2 separate regions of the Homo sapiens genome follow, and region 1 is linked to region 2. Evidence: promoter capture Hi-C in 16 types of primary human blood cells and fetal thymus (Javierre and others, 2016). All regions are on one chromosome and are shown on one strand. Each heading gives the region's core, a stretch centred on a gene start or on the middle of the fragment in contact. The rest is flanking DNA. Distances are from core to core; before and after follow the strand shown.

What was found. Contacts are between HindIII fragments. The CHiCAGO score rates a contact against its expected background, and 5 or more counts as called.
Region 1: a fragment that was not itself captured here is called in contact with the fragment with the promoter of PRKCI in region 2 in 3 of 17 cell types (non-activated CD4 T cells, total CD8 T cells and naive CD8 T cells); the score reaches 6.2 in non-activated CD4 T cells.

What each region holds. Positions count from the first base shown.
Region 1 is chr3:169,756,390-169,762,055 of GRCh38, forward strand. No RefSeq gene overlaps it. Among named protein-coding and RNA genes, the nearest start is that of ACTRT3, 10 kb to the right of the region's middle. The HindIII fragment of the contact is 1,828 bases long and covers 2,346-4,173 here.
Region 2 is chr3:170,218,296-170,224,571 of GRCh38, forward strand. It overlaps PRKCI (protein kinase C iota), which reads left to right and starts at 4,129. Exons shown (of 18, transcript NM_002740.6): 1 at 4,129-4,475. The coding sequence starts at 4,375. RefSeq lists enhancers at 3,660-3,719, 3,790-3,849, 3,860-4,019 and a silencer at 4,200-4,489. The HindIII fragment of the contact is 16,903 bases long and covers 1-6,148 here.

The DNA of each region.
Region 1 (5,666 bases), core at 2,010-4,509, 460 kb before region 2:
AACACAGATAAGCAAATAATTTATTGCAAATTAGGAAAACATGTTATAAAGGTAATCAACAGAAGATCATAAGAGGAGGGGTAACCTGCTTCAAAAGGGGGTCAGAGAGGATTCTGAGGAGGTGATATCTAAGTTAAGACTTGAGGAGGAGAGAAGGGGCCAGGAACTACAAGTGCAATTTAAGCAGAGAACCCAGGATGAGAGTTTGGTACAAAGGAGGCTGGTGTGGCTGAAGCACAGTGCAAGAAAAGAAGAGGGTGTATTAGTTTGTTTTCACACTGCTGGTAAAGACATACCCGAGACTGGGAAGAAAAAGGGATTTTATTGGACTTACAGTTCCACCTGGCTGTGGATGACTCAGAATCATGGTGGGAGGCAAAAGTCACTTCTTACATGGCGGCAGCAAGAGAAAATGAGAGAAGAAGCAAAAGTGGAAACCCCTGATAAACCCATCAGATCTCGTGAGACTTATTCACTATCACGAGAATAGCATGGGAAAGACTGGCCCACATGATTCAATTACCTCCCCCTGGGTCTCTCCCAAAACACATAGGAATTCTGGGCGATACAATTCAAGTTGAGATTTGGGTGGGGACACAGAGGGGTAAGCAGGGGGCCAGATTATACAAAGCCTTGATAAGAATTTTGGATTTTATTCCAAGTGCAACATGAAGTCACTAAAGTGTTGTGAAGAGAAAAAACATGGCTCAGTTAGCCTTTTAATAAGATCACTCTAGTTCCGTTGTGAAGAATGAATTGGTAATGGGTGTGAGGCAAGATAAGAAGTAGAAAGACCTGTCAGGTCTTTGTAGAAGATGGTGAACTGGGCTGGGGCAGTGGCTAACACCTGTAATCCCAGCACTTTGGGAGGCCAAGGCAGGTGGATCACCTGAGGTCAGGAGTTCAAGACCAGCCTGGCCAACGTGGTGAAACCCCATCTCTACTAAAAATACAAAAATTGCTGGGCGTTGTGGCACGTGCCTGTAATCCCAGTTCCTTGGGAGGCTGAGGCAGGAGAATCACTTGAACCTGGGAGGTGGAGGTTGCAGTAAGCCAAAATCACACCATTGCACTCCAGCCTGGGCAACAGAACAAGACTCTCTCTCCAAAAAAAAAAAAAAAAAAAAAAAAAGATAGTGAACTAGATTAAGGTAGTAGAAATGAAGCCAAAGTGGGAGGATCACTTGAGGCCAAGAGTTCAAGACCAGCCTGGGCAATATAGCAAGCTCCTGACTCTCAAAAAAATTATTTTAAAAATTAGGCTGGCGGTGCACATCTGTAGTCCCTCTATTTCTCACCTTTTTTTATGATATTGTCACATTAATTTTGTAACTGAAAAAATTAGAAAGCATTATTAATTAGATTACTTAGCATTTGCCTCTGTGCTAACTCCTGGGCTCAAGTGACCCTCGCACCTCAGCCTCAGGGCTGCAGTGAGCTATGTCACACCACTGCACTCCAGCCTGGGAAACAGAGCAAGACCCAATCTCAAAAAAAAAAAAAATAGACCAGAGGACACGGCAGGGTGCGGGGAAAATGAGACATCAGCAGTGGTGCCCAGAAGACTGGTTTTAGCTCCTGGGTGTAGCAGTAGCATTTACGGGAAGGGGAAAGGGAAGAAAAAATAGATTTGGGGGATAAAATGATGAATTTAGTAAATTTAAATAACATGAGACTGCACCATATAATTTGCTTATAGAATCTCTCTCTCCAGGAAGACCTTTAAAGATGAGGAATATATGTTTCACCTTTGAAGTCTCAACACCCTGAACAATACAACATGTTGCAGACTAGGTATTTAGTGTTTGTTAAATGAACATCACAACTTTGCAAGTGGTTCATTCATTCCAGTATAATAAGATTCCAGTTATTGTGAAAAGCCATTTAAACTGTTTTCCTTACCAAGGAAAAGTTGATAGATGAGTAATTATTCTTTAACTTAAAAAGAGAATGAAAAAGTATGTGATTTTTTTAAAATTATTTTTTGTTTGTTTAGTTTTCTGTAAAGTAAAATAGCAGTTAAAAGCTAAAATGCGTGTATTTACATTCTTAGGCCTGCTACTGACCTTCTTCAAGTGATTTTACCTCCCAACGTTTCAGTTTCTCCATTTGCAGAAGGGAGATAATGGTGGTTGCCTTATCTCACAAGGATGTCATGAAAATAAGTCAGATAAATTGCTTTGCCCTCCTTGGAGAGGGGCTCTAGAAAGTAAGCATTATTAGATATGATGATGAATACCCACAACTTCAAAGATATTTTTAAATTGCCCCCCCTCCGCCCCCAAGTCTTTGAACATGTTAAGCCTATGAATAGCACTGGGGTAGGTGTTTATATATTTCTGGCAAGCTTTCACCTCTTGTTAAAGCAGTAAATGGTCTTTGAACAAACGTATTTCTCATTCTTTGATAACTATGCTTCCTTGTTTGTACACTTGAAAGATGATTATAATCTGGCATATGAGGTCAAGTTGAACTCCTTGGTGCCATTACAGTTCAAATGTAGCTTTAATTGAGTTTTTCTTCCAAGGTTGAAAATAAGTCACCCAGTTCACTTTAGCAAACTACTCGCATTTTTTAAAAAGATTGTGGGGAATGTAACTGTTTTTGCAACTGATATGTATAATGTTTTTCATTTTAGTTATAATATCCTCATTGATCATACAAAAAAGTCAGTATTTGTATTTCTTCATTATTGCATTTTTCTGTTTTCCTTAAATTGTTTTTAATAACTATAATTATGCCTTTTAACACTTATATAGACAGCCATAGTACACACATAAATATCACCAAAGTGAAAACCTAGAGCCCCAAGACAAAAAAAAAAAAAAAAATGATAGTCAAACATCATCTAGAGAAAGATTCTAGCTGCAGGTGTGCATCAAGTTCATAATTGGTGTTATTTTAAAAATTCACAAACCATTAGCACTTCCACCCTTCTCCATATATCTCTTAACTATATACCCAAGTCAAAACCACTTCCTGCCAGAGTAACTACAACATACCCATCAGAGCGCTGTAAAATCATTACTTGCAAAGTAAAGAGTAAGACAGACTTCTCCTCTCATTAATAATACCAGTTGCTGTCATATATATTACTCATATATTCTCCCCACAACCACCCTTCAAGGGAAGTCTTAGTACATCCGGTTGACACATGTGGAATGTAAAGTTGGGTGACTTATGCTAGATTCCCTCAGCTAGGTTAGAACAGGGTAAAAGTACAGGACCACAATAATATCCTTATTTCAATGTCTTCCTGTTTCCTTTTTATATCAAGGAAGAAATGAGAATTTGAGGCAACACAAATGAAGACCATATATACTTTGATACCTACCTAGGAGGGGAGATACAAACCAGAGTAAAGGAAAAATATGGGAAAAGTTGCCTCATTTCCACCTAGTGATGGTGGAACCCTTGGAACCCTCTTCACATCCCATAACGACTGACAGAATGGACACTGAAAAACAGGCCCACCCCTCAGGCAGAACCACTGGAAGAAATACCCTAACCCCTATACGTGAAGGATTAGCACTACTATTTTCAGAATATTATTAAAATTTAATTTTGAAACTTCTCTTTAGTGATATTCCCAGAAACCTATAACAGATACCACCAGTGTAAACTCCTCTCAAATACATTTATTTTGGGTAGGCCTCAAACTGGTAGGATGGTCCAAACCCTCACCCTTCTAGAGAAAGCACTCAGGAATGCTTAAATTTGCCTAGGCCAAAGGTCGCAAATTAATAGCCTATAATAGACCAGATTTTATCTCAAAACGTTTTTTTATTGGTGCATTGCAATGACTTCAGCTATCAACAACCTAAGCTAGGAGGTCCCCAGGCCATCCTTACATCTGACAAGCTGCCTACAAATTTAGGGGTTCCCACTACCCCTTCAAGTTTCATAATTCAGTAGAATGACTTAGAGAACTCAGGAAAGTGTTATTTCGGTTTTATTACAGTTTTATCATAGCAAAAGGATGTTTATTATAGTTATTATTATGGTTTTATTATAGCAAAAGGATTCAAATCAAAACCAGCCAAAGGGAGAGACACATAGAGTGAGGTCTGGGAGGGTCCCAGAAAGAAGGTTCCATTGTCCCTCTCCTCATGTCCTCAGGGACACATTTTCCTCCTAGCACACTGAGTACTGCCAACCACGGACGTTCATCCAAGCTTCAGTGTGTCCAGAGTTTTTATTGGGGCTTCATTACAGGCATGATTGGATGAATCACTAGTCATAAGGCTCAGACATGTGGCTCCAAGTCTCTCAAGAGGTCGGGCTAGTATCATGGGGCCCAAAGCCCCAACACTCTAATCACATGGCTGACCAACCCCCAGTCATGAGTCATCTCGTTAGTGTAAACTATTGGGTCTAGTCCAAGAGGCCTACCAAGAAAAGACACTCCCACCATTCTTGGTGAATTCCAAGGGTTTAGAGGCTACTTCCCAGGGTTCAGGAACAAAAGCCATCCAAATTCTTTACCATGCACTTATATAATATTTAAATTTTATTTCAATTTAGCTACCAACATTCTATAATCAGTGGTGTTGACATAAAAATCTGAATTTTTGTCTTCTCTTGCAATACTGACAATTTTAGGCTCAATTTCTGTAAGATTGCTGCCTCCTTAAAAAGGGAAGCTCATTCTCCCTACCATCTCTATAGTCTCCATTTTCTTATTCCCAGTGTGATTCACTTCTTTGTTTCCTTTCTGTCCACTGCAGACATTTAAATTTGCATATCCTGGGCTAATTCTTGGGTATTTTCGCTGTTTTTACTTCCATCACATATTATTACCTTAAAAGAATGAACATGAAGGAATGACAGTTACCTTTTGTCACTTCATTCTCATCTTATTTAAAACCACTCCTCCCTTACACTTTGTATGACGGTGGGTGCATGTGTACACACGCTTGTGCCTGTGCCATCTATTTGTCTCTTAAGTCTCGAGCCAGGCTAACATGGAATTTTTGACTGCAGAACCAGGACAAGCTGAATTAAAACTCAATGTCATCCTCAGAGTCAAAACCCATAACCAACTCCAGACCTTACAAAGGAAGCCCCTCATTCTGAAGGACAAAAGAAAAAGCATGTTTCTCAGTATTTTTAAAGCTAATGCTTCCTTCATACGCATAAAATTCTCACATCCTTCATGTGAAATACAACCTAAGTAACAAAATAAAGAGAACAAGTATCGTCATTTGCAAACTTCATATACCCTTTCTCTCACTATACCCCTTTGAGAATCACTGGTTTAAATAATATAAAAGGCATGAAACAAGCCCTAAGTACCTCAGGAACCATGTGGACATCTGTAGTCTCTCTCAGATACAGCTGTCACATAGACCTTGAAGTACAGTCAACCCTCAATATTCATAGATTCTGTATTTGTGGATTCACCTAGTCACCGAAATTGTTTATAATCTCAAAAGCAATACCTGCAGTGCTTTCATAGTCATTCATGGGCATGTGCAGAGCCCTGAAAAGTTTGATTTCCCCAACACATAGGTTCTCTTTTGCCTTTGTAGTCCAAAAAGGACACTATAAACAAGTGTCCTATTTCTGGTCTATTTAATGGCAAGTTTTTCACATTTGTATGCTTTTAGTTGGTGACTGTGCTGTTTAAAATGACCCCCAATCATAGTGCTTAAGTGCTGTCTAGC
Region 2 (6,276 bases), core at 2,879-5,378:
CAGCACTTTGGGAGGCCGAGGCGGGTGGATCACGAGGTCAGGAGATTGAGACCATCCTGGCTAACACAGTGAAACCCTGTCTCTACTAAAAATACAAAAAATTAGCTGGGCATGGTGGCGAGTGCCTGTAGTCCCAGCTACTCAGGAGGCTGAGGCAGGAGACTGGCATGAGCCCAGGAGGCGGAGCTTGCAGTCAGCCCAGATCGTGCCACTGCACTCCAGCCTGGGCAACAGAGCGAGACTCCATCTCAAAAAAAAAAAAAAAAAAAATGACAGTCTTATATGCAGGAAATCCTAAGGAATTCACCTAATAAACAAGTTCTGCAATACAATATCAACAATATGCAAAAATCAACTGCATTTCTCTATAGTAGAAGTGAATAATTCAAAAAGGAAACTAAGAAAACAATTTGTTTACAATAGCATTATAAAGAATAAAATATTTAAGAGTAAAAGAAGTGCAAAATGTATACTCTGAAAATGAGAAAGCAATTGAAGCTGCCTAAATAAATGAAAAGTTATCCCATGTTCATGGATTGGAAGGTTTAATACTGTTAACATGACAAAAACCACACAAACTGATTCACAGATTCAAGGCAATCGTTATCAAAATCTCAGCTGGCTTTCTTAAAGAAATTGACAAGTTGATCCTAAAATTCACATGAAAATGTAAGGGATCCAGAATAGCCAAGACACTCTTGAAAAAAAAAAAAGTTGTAAGACTCACACTTCCTTGTTTTAAAAGTTACTAAAAAACTACAGTAATGAAGACACTGTGATTATTGTCAAAGGATAGACAAATCAATCAATAGAATAGAATTTAAAATCCAGGAATAAACCCTTAAATTTTGGTCATTTGATTTTTGACAATTGTGCAAACAATTAAATGGGAGAAAAATAGTCTTTTCAACAAATGATGGTGGGATAACTGAATATCCACATGCAAAGAAATCAATTTGGACCACTTACATTAGACACAAAAATTAACCCAAAATGGATCATAAGCTAAAAAGTAAGAGTTTAAACTATAAAACTTCTAGAAGGAAATATAGGTGTAAATCTTCATGATCTTAGATTACACAAAGCCCTCTTAGACATGACACTAAAAACATATATAACATATAGTCTGGCACACAGTAAAACAAACAAAAACCATACGTGACAACAACAAAATAAATTAGACCTCGTGAAAATTAAAAATTTTTATGCTGCAAATAATACCATCAAAAATATGAAAAGATTAAAAAAATGAAAAGATAATGCACAGAGTGGGAGAAAATATTTGCAAATAATCTAATAAGAGATGTATTTCCAGAATATATAAAGAGCTCTGGCCAGGCATGGTGGCTCACACCTATAATCTTAGCACTTTGGGAAGTCAAGGTGGGAAGATCACTTGAGCCCAGGAGTTGAAGATCAGCCTTGACATTATAGGAAGACCTAGTCTCTACAAAAACGAGAAAAACAAATTAGCTGGGTGTGGTGGCATATGCCTATGGGCCTAGCTACTCAGTAGGCTGAAGTGGAAGGATCGCTTGAGCCCAGGAGTTGGAGAGCTGTGATCATGCCATGCACTCCAGTCTGTGCAACAGAGCAAGATCTTGTCTTGAAGAAAAAAAAAAGAAAAGAGAGAACTCTTACAACTCAATGAAAAAAGACAACCCAATTTAAAAATGATTAAAGGATCTGAATAGATAGTTCTCCAAGAAGATATATAAATGGCCAATAAAAACACGAAAACATACCCAACATCATTAGTCATTAGGGAGATGTACATCAAAACTGTAATGAGATACCACTTCACAACCACTAGGATGGTTATGATAAAGAAGATGGGAAAAAAACCAAGTATTGGCAAGGACATTAAAAAAAACTGAAACCTTCACTGGGTATGGTGGCTTACACCTGTAATCTCAGCACTTTGGGAGGCTGAGGCAGGCAGATGGCTTCAGTCCAGGAGATTGAGACCAGCCTGGACAACATGGCAAAACCCCGGCGCTACAAAAAACACAAAATTTAGCAGGGTGTGGTGGCACATGCCTGTAGTCCCAGCTACTAGCGATGTTCAGAATAGAAAAACTCATAGCAACAGAAAATATATTATTGGTTGCCAGAGGTTGAGGAGAGTGGGGAGTAACTGCTAATGGATATGCAGTTACTTTCAGGGTGCTGAAAATACTCTGGATTTAGGTAGAGGTGATGGTTGCAAAACTTTGTGAAGATACTTAAAACTATCAAATTTTACACTTTAAATGAGTAAGTTGTATGGCATGTGAATTATCTTTTTTTAAAAAAATGAGACGGGATCTCACTGTGCATTGTGTTGCCCAGGGACGGAGTCTCGCTGGAGTGCAGTGGTGCAGTCTCAGAGGCTCACAGCAACCTCTGCCTCCTGGGTTTAAGCGATTCTCGTGCCTCAGCCTCCGGAGTAGCTGGGATTACAGGTGCCCGTATATTTTATAATATATTCCATAATTAATCGCTCCGTATTAAACTTGCTGATGCAGGTCTCCAATTACTGAAAAACCTGATACCAAGTTTTTCAATGGGATTTTTTTGTTTGTTTAAGAGATGGGGTCTCACCATGTTGCTCAGGCTGGCCTTGAACTCCTGGGCTCAAGTGATCCTCCAGCCTCAGCCTCTCAAAGGCTGGGACTACAGGCATGTAGCACTTTGCCTGACTCAAGGGGAATTTTTAGTAAGAGTATATAATCCAAGTCTGTAGCAGTTGGAGGATGTCGTACCACGCTGAAGTGTCACACATAACTGATGACTCAGTCCCCCAAGCCTATTTTATCATCGTAAAGAAAGCTATTTCTTTGATTATTCCAACTCTTTCAGCACCAGGACTGCTGCAGGGGCTGGATTCATGCTACCTGTAGTTGCAGTGTAAATTATGTGTCAGAGCCAAGATCCTAGGAAAGTCAAAGACTAGGTTACAAGAGCGATTCTTTTTTTTTTTTTTTTTTTTTTTTTTTGAGACAGAGTCTTGCTCTGTCGCCCAGGCTGGAGTGCAGTGGCACAGTCTTGGCTCACTGCAACCTCCGCCTCCCTGGTTCACGCCATTCTCCTGCCTTAGCCTCCCGAGTAGCTGGGACTACAGGCGCCCGCCACCACGCCCGGCTAATTTTTTGTGTTTTTAGTAGAGACGGGGTTTCACCGTGTTAGCCAGGATGGTCTCGATCTCCTGACCTTGTGATCCGCCCGCCTCGGCCTCCCAAAGTGCTGGGATTACAGGCTTGAGCCACCGCGCCCGGCCAAGGACGATTCTTTCTAATCTTTGGTAAGCCAGTTTTTACAGAATGAAATGCTCTTGGATTGACTGACTTGATTGGGTAAGTATTCATTGGGCTCTTGTTCCATGCAAGGGCAGTCTACAAGGGCCTAGATATGGGGGCCCCCAAAGAAGAAAAATCGGTTTTTCATCATATTTTCTGGTTGAGTTTCTTCCTTTATTATATTTGTTACATATGTTATTAAATTATTTCCATAAAAGAGGTTATGCTGAGCAGGTAACCAAATTCTTGTTCCCCCAAAAGACATGTATAATTCAGACGATTTATGCAATTAGAAGAAGGGAGACTTCATCAGTTAATAAAGTCTAGAACGTGAGGAAGCCCAGTCATTTCCAGGACCTTCAGATGCCCAAGCTGGATCCAGGTTTTCCACCCCGACAGCTCCAGGGAGCACGCTGGAGAGACAGACTTCACCAGCGGGAAGGCGCGGCACCCTACGCGCAAGGAACCTCAAGTCCCAGAATCCTATGAGGACTCCAAATCCCAGAAACCTGCACGCAAATCTATCCCGGGTGCCAAGTCGGCCGACCGCAGACGTGACCAAGTTGCGAGGCTAGGGTGAGGTGTCGTAGAATTTGTCCCTACCATTGTCCCTGCAGGGAAGAGACTTTAGTGATCTAGAGCTGGTCATTGTCTCTTTCACAGCTCGCGTGAAAGCACCCCTCTCGGCGTGTTTGATGCCATGATCAGCGTCTCCCATTCCCTCTGTCCCCTTTCTCTGCCCCCGTAAGGATGGTTCAGCCCGGTATTGAGGCTCCTTGAGCTGGCTGGATGGTTGCGCCCGCCCTACCCCGGAATGTGGGCCTTTGGAGCGAGCGAAGTGGGAGGGACCGACGCAGGAGGTGTCTTGGGCCCGGGCGGCTGTAGAGGCGGCGGCGCCTACGGGCAGTGGGAGGAGCCGCGCGGTTCCGGCTGCTCCGGCGAGGCGACCCTTGGGTCGGCGCTGCGGGCGAGGTGGGCAGGTAGGTGGGCGGACGGCCGCGGTTCTCCGGCAAGCGCAGGCGGCGGAGTCCCCCACGGCGCCCGAAGCGCCCCCCCGCACCCCCGGCCTCCAGCGTTGAGGCGGGGGAGTGAGGAGATGCCGACCCAGAGGGACAGCAGCACCATGTCCCACACGGTCGCAGGCGGCGGCAGCGGGGACCATTCCCACCAGGTCCGGGTGAAAGCCTACTACCGCGGGTGAGTGTCCTGGGACAGGGCGGTGGGCGGGAGGGGACAGGCCGGCTCCACTCGGCCTGGAGGAGGGGAGGGTGAGGGGCTGGAGGTGTTGTGGGCGGATTGGGCTGGGCGGGCGGGCGGCTCCGGTGACTCAGGGTGAGTGACGAAGTGATAGGGGTGGGGGCGAAGCAAGGGGATGCAGTACTGGGGGCGCCCCCAGGTATGGCGGTGCGGGGAGCCGAGGGGCCAGAGTAGGGTCCGAGAAGGAAGCTAGGGTTAGAGTAGGTGCACCTGGTGTGGACGAGAGACTCGCCTCCTGAGAGCTTTGTAGGGGCCTTGCATCCTTAAGTCTGGGTGTATTTGGGGTTGCGAGTTGAGGATTCCAAGTGATGCCTTAGTTAACTCAGTTTGCTGTGGGGATAGAAAACGGGACTTCTTCAGTTAGCTGTCCGTTTTGATTACCAGCAGGCCTAACGCCTCTGGTTCTCTGAGATATACCTCCATCCCCGTTGTGTTCACGTAGTGTATCTGCACTGCCAGTATATTAGACATAGGGGTTGTATTTAAGAATCAAGTCGATGCGTTTTCAGGGACGTGCAGTGGGTACTTACGTGTCGTCAAGATTAAGTTGCATGTGTGTAAATCAAAATTTTGTGAGCCTTTCTTTCTCAGTGTTGTTTCAACGACTACCCGATAGGGTGAGATACTGCAAGGTGAGGAGACTAGCCTAGTTACAGTTTTAAATTCTCTGATCTTCACTCCCTTACTATGGTTACAAGAAAAAACCCAGTTCTAAGTTCATTGTGTTAAATCATTTTCTATCAGTGACGCAAAGTGCCCCCCTTCCTTTAAATTCAGTTGTGGTTTGAATTTTTTTTTGAGATAATTATGTTTAGGAGCATTAGAAACGTGAAATGTTAGTGTGACCATAAAGGTTGGAGACTGAGAAGTCACAGAAAACCCAGCTACTTTGGCTTGCCTTACTGCTTGTCCAGGTAGAAGTAAATTGCTTTAAAAAACTCAAGCAGTGCTAGGTTGAAATTTTAATGCATACTTTTACATTCCTGAGAGGATCAGTGAAGATAGCAAACTCTCAAACTACCTCTCTTGTTTTGATTTCAAAGAAAATCTGAGCCCCTAAATGTTGTATTGATTTGATGTAAGGACTTTTTTTTTTATTATTATACTTTAAGTTTTAGGGTACATGTGCACAATGTGCAGGTTAGTTACATGTGTATACATGTGCCATACTGGTGTGCTGCACCCATTAACTCGTCATTTACATTAGGTATATCTCCTAATGGTATCCCTCCCCCCTCCCCCCACCCCACAACAGTCCCCAGGGTGTGATGTTCCCCTTCCTGTGTCCATGTGTTCTCATTGTTCAATTCCCATCTGTGAGTGAGAACATGCGGTGTTTGGTTTTTTGTCCTTGATGTAAGGACTTTTAAATTTGCTGCCATGAAGCCTCTGGCCTCTGTTTATTATTAGCTTGACTGTATGCAGGAGTAGTTTATTGGAGTTATATTGGACAGTATGATAACTTTGTGTTTAAGCAGGTAAAACTGATTAAGGAGGTTTTTATTTTAAATCAGTACCAAGAAACGTGTGGATATTTTTTAAAGTTTGTAGTTGTCACAAGAGCTGTTTTGACTTGAGGATGGTCAGCCATGAACTTTGCAAGGTGAGAAAAAAGCTTCCTTTGCTTTTTTTTTTTTAAACCCTTACCTGTAATTTGATGAATGAGATGTTTCACTTTATTCTTTTATTTTATTTTTGTTTGTTTGTTTTTGAGACAGGGTCTTACTCTGTTACCCATGCT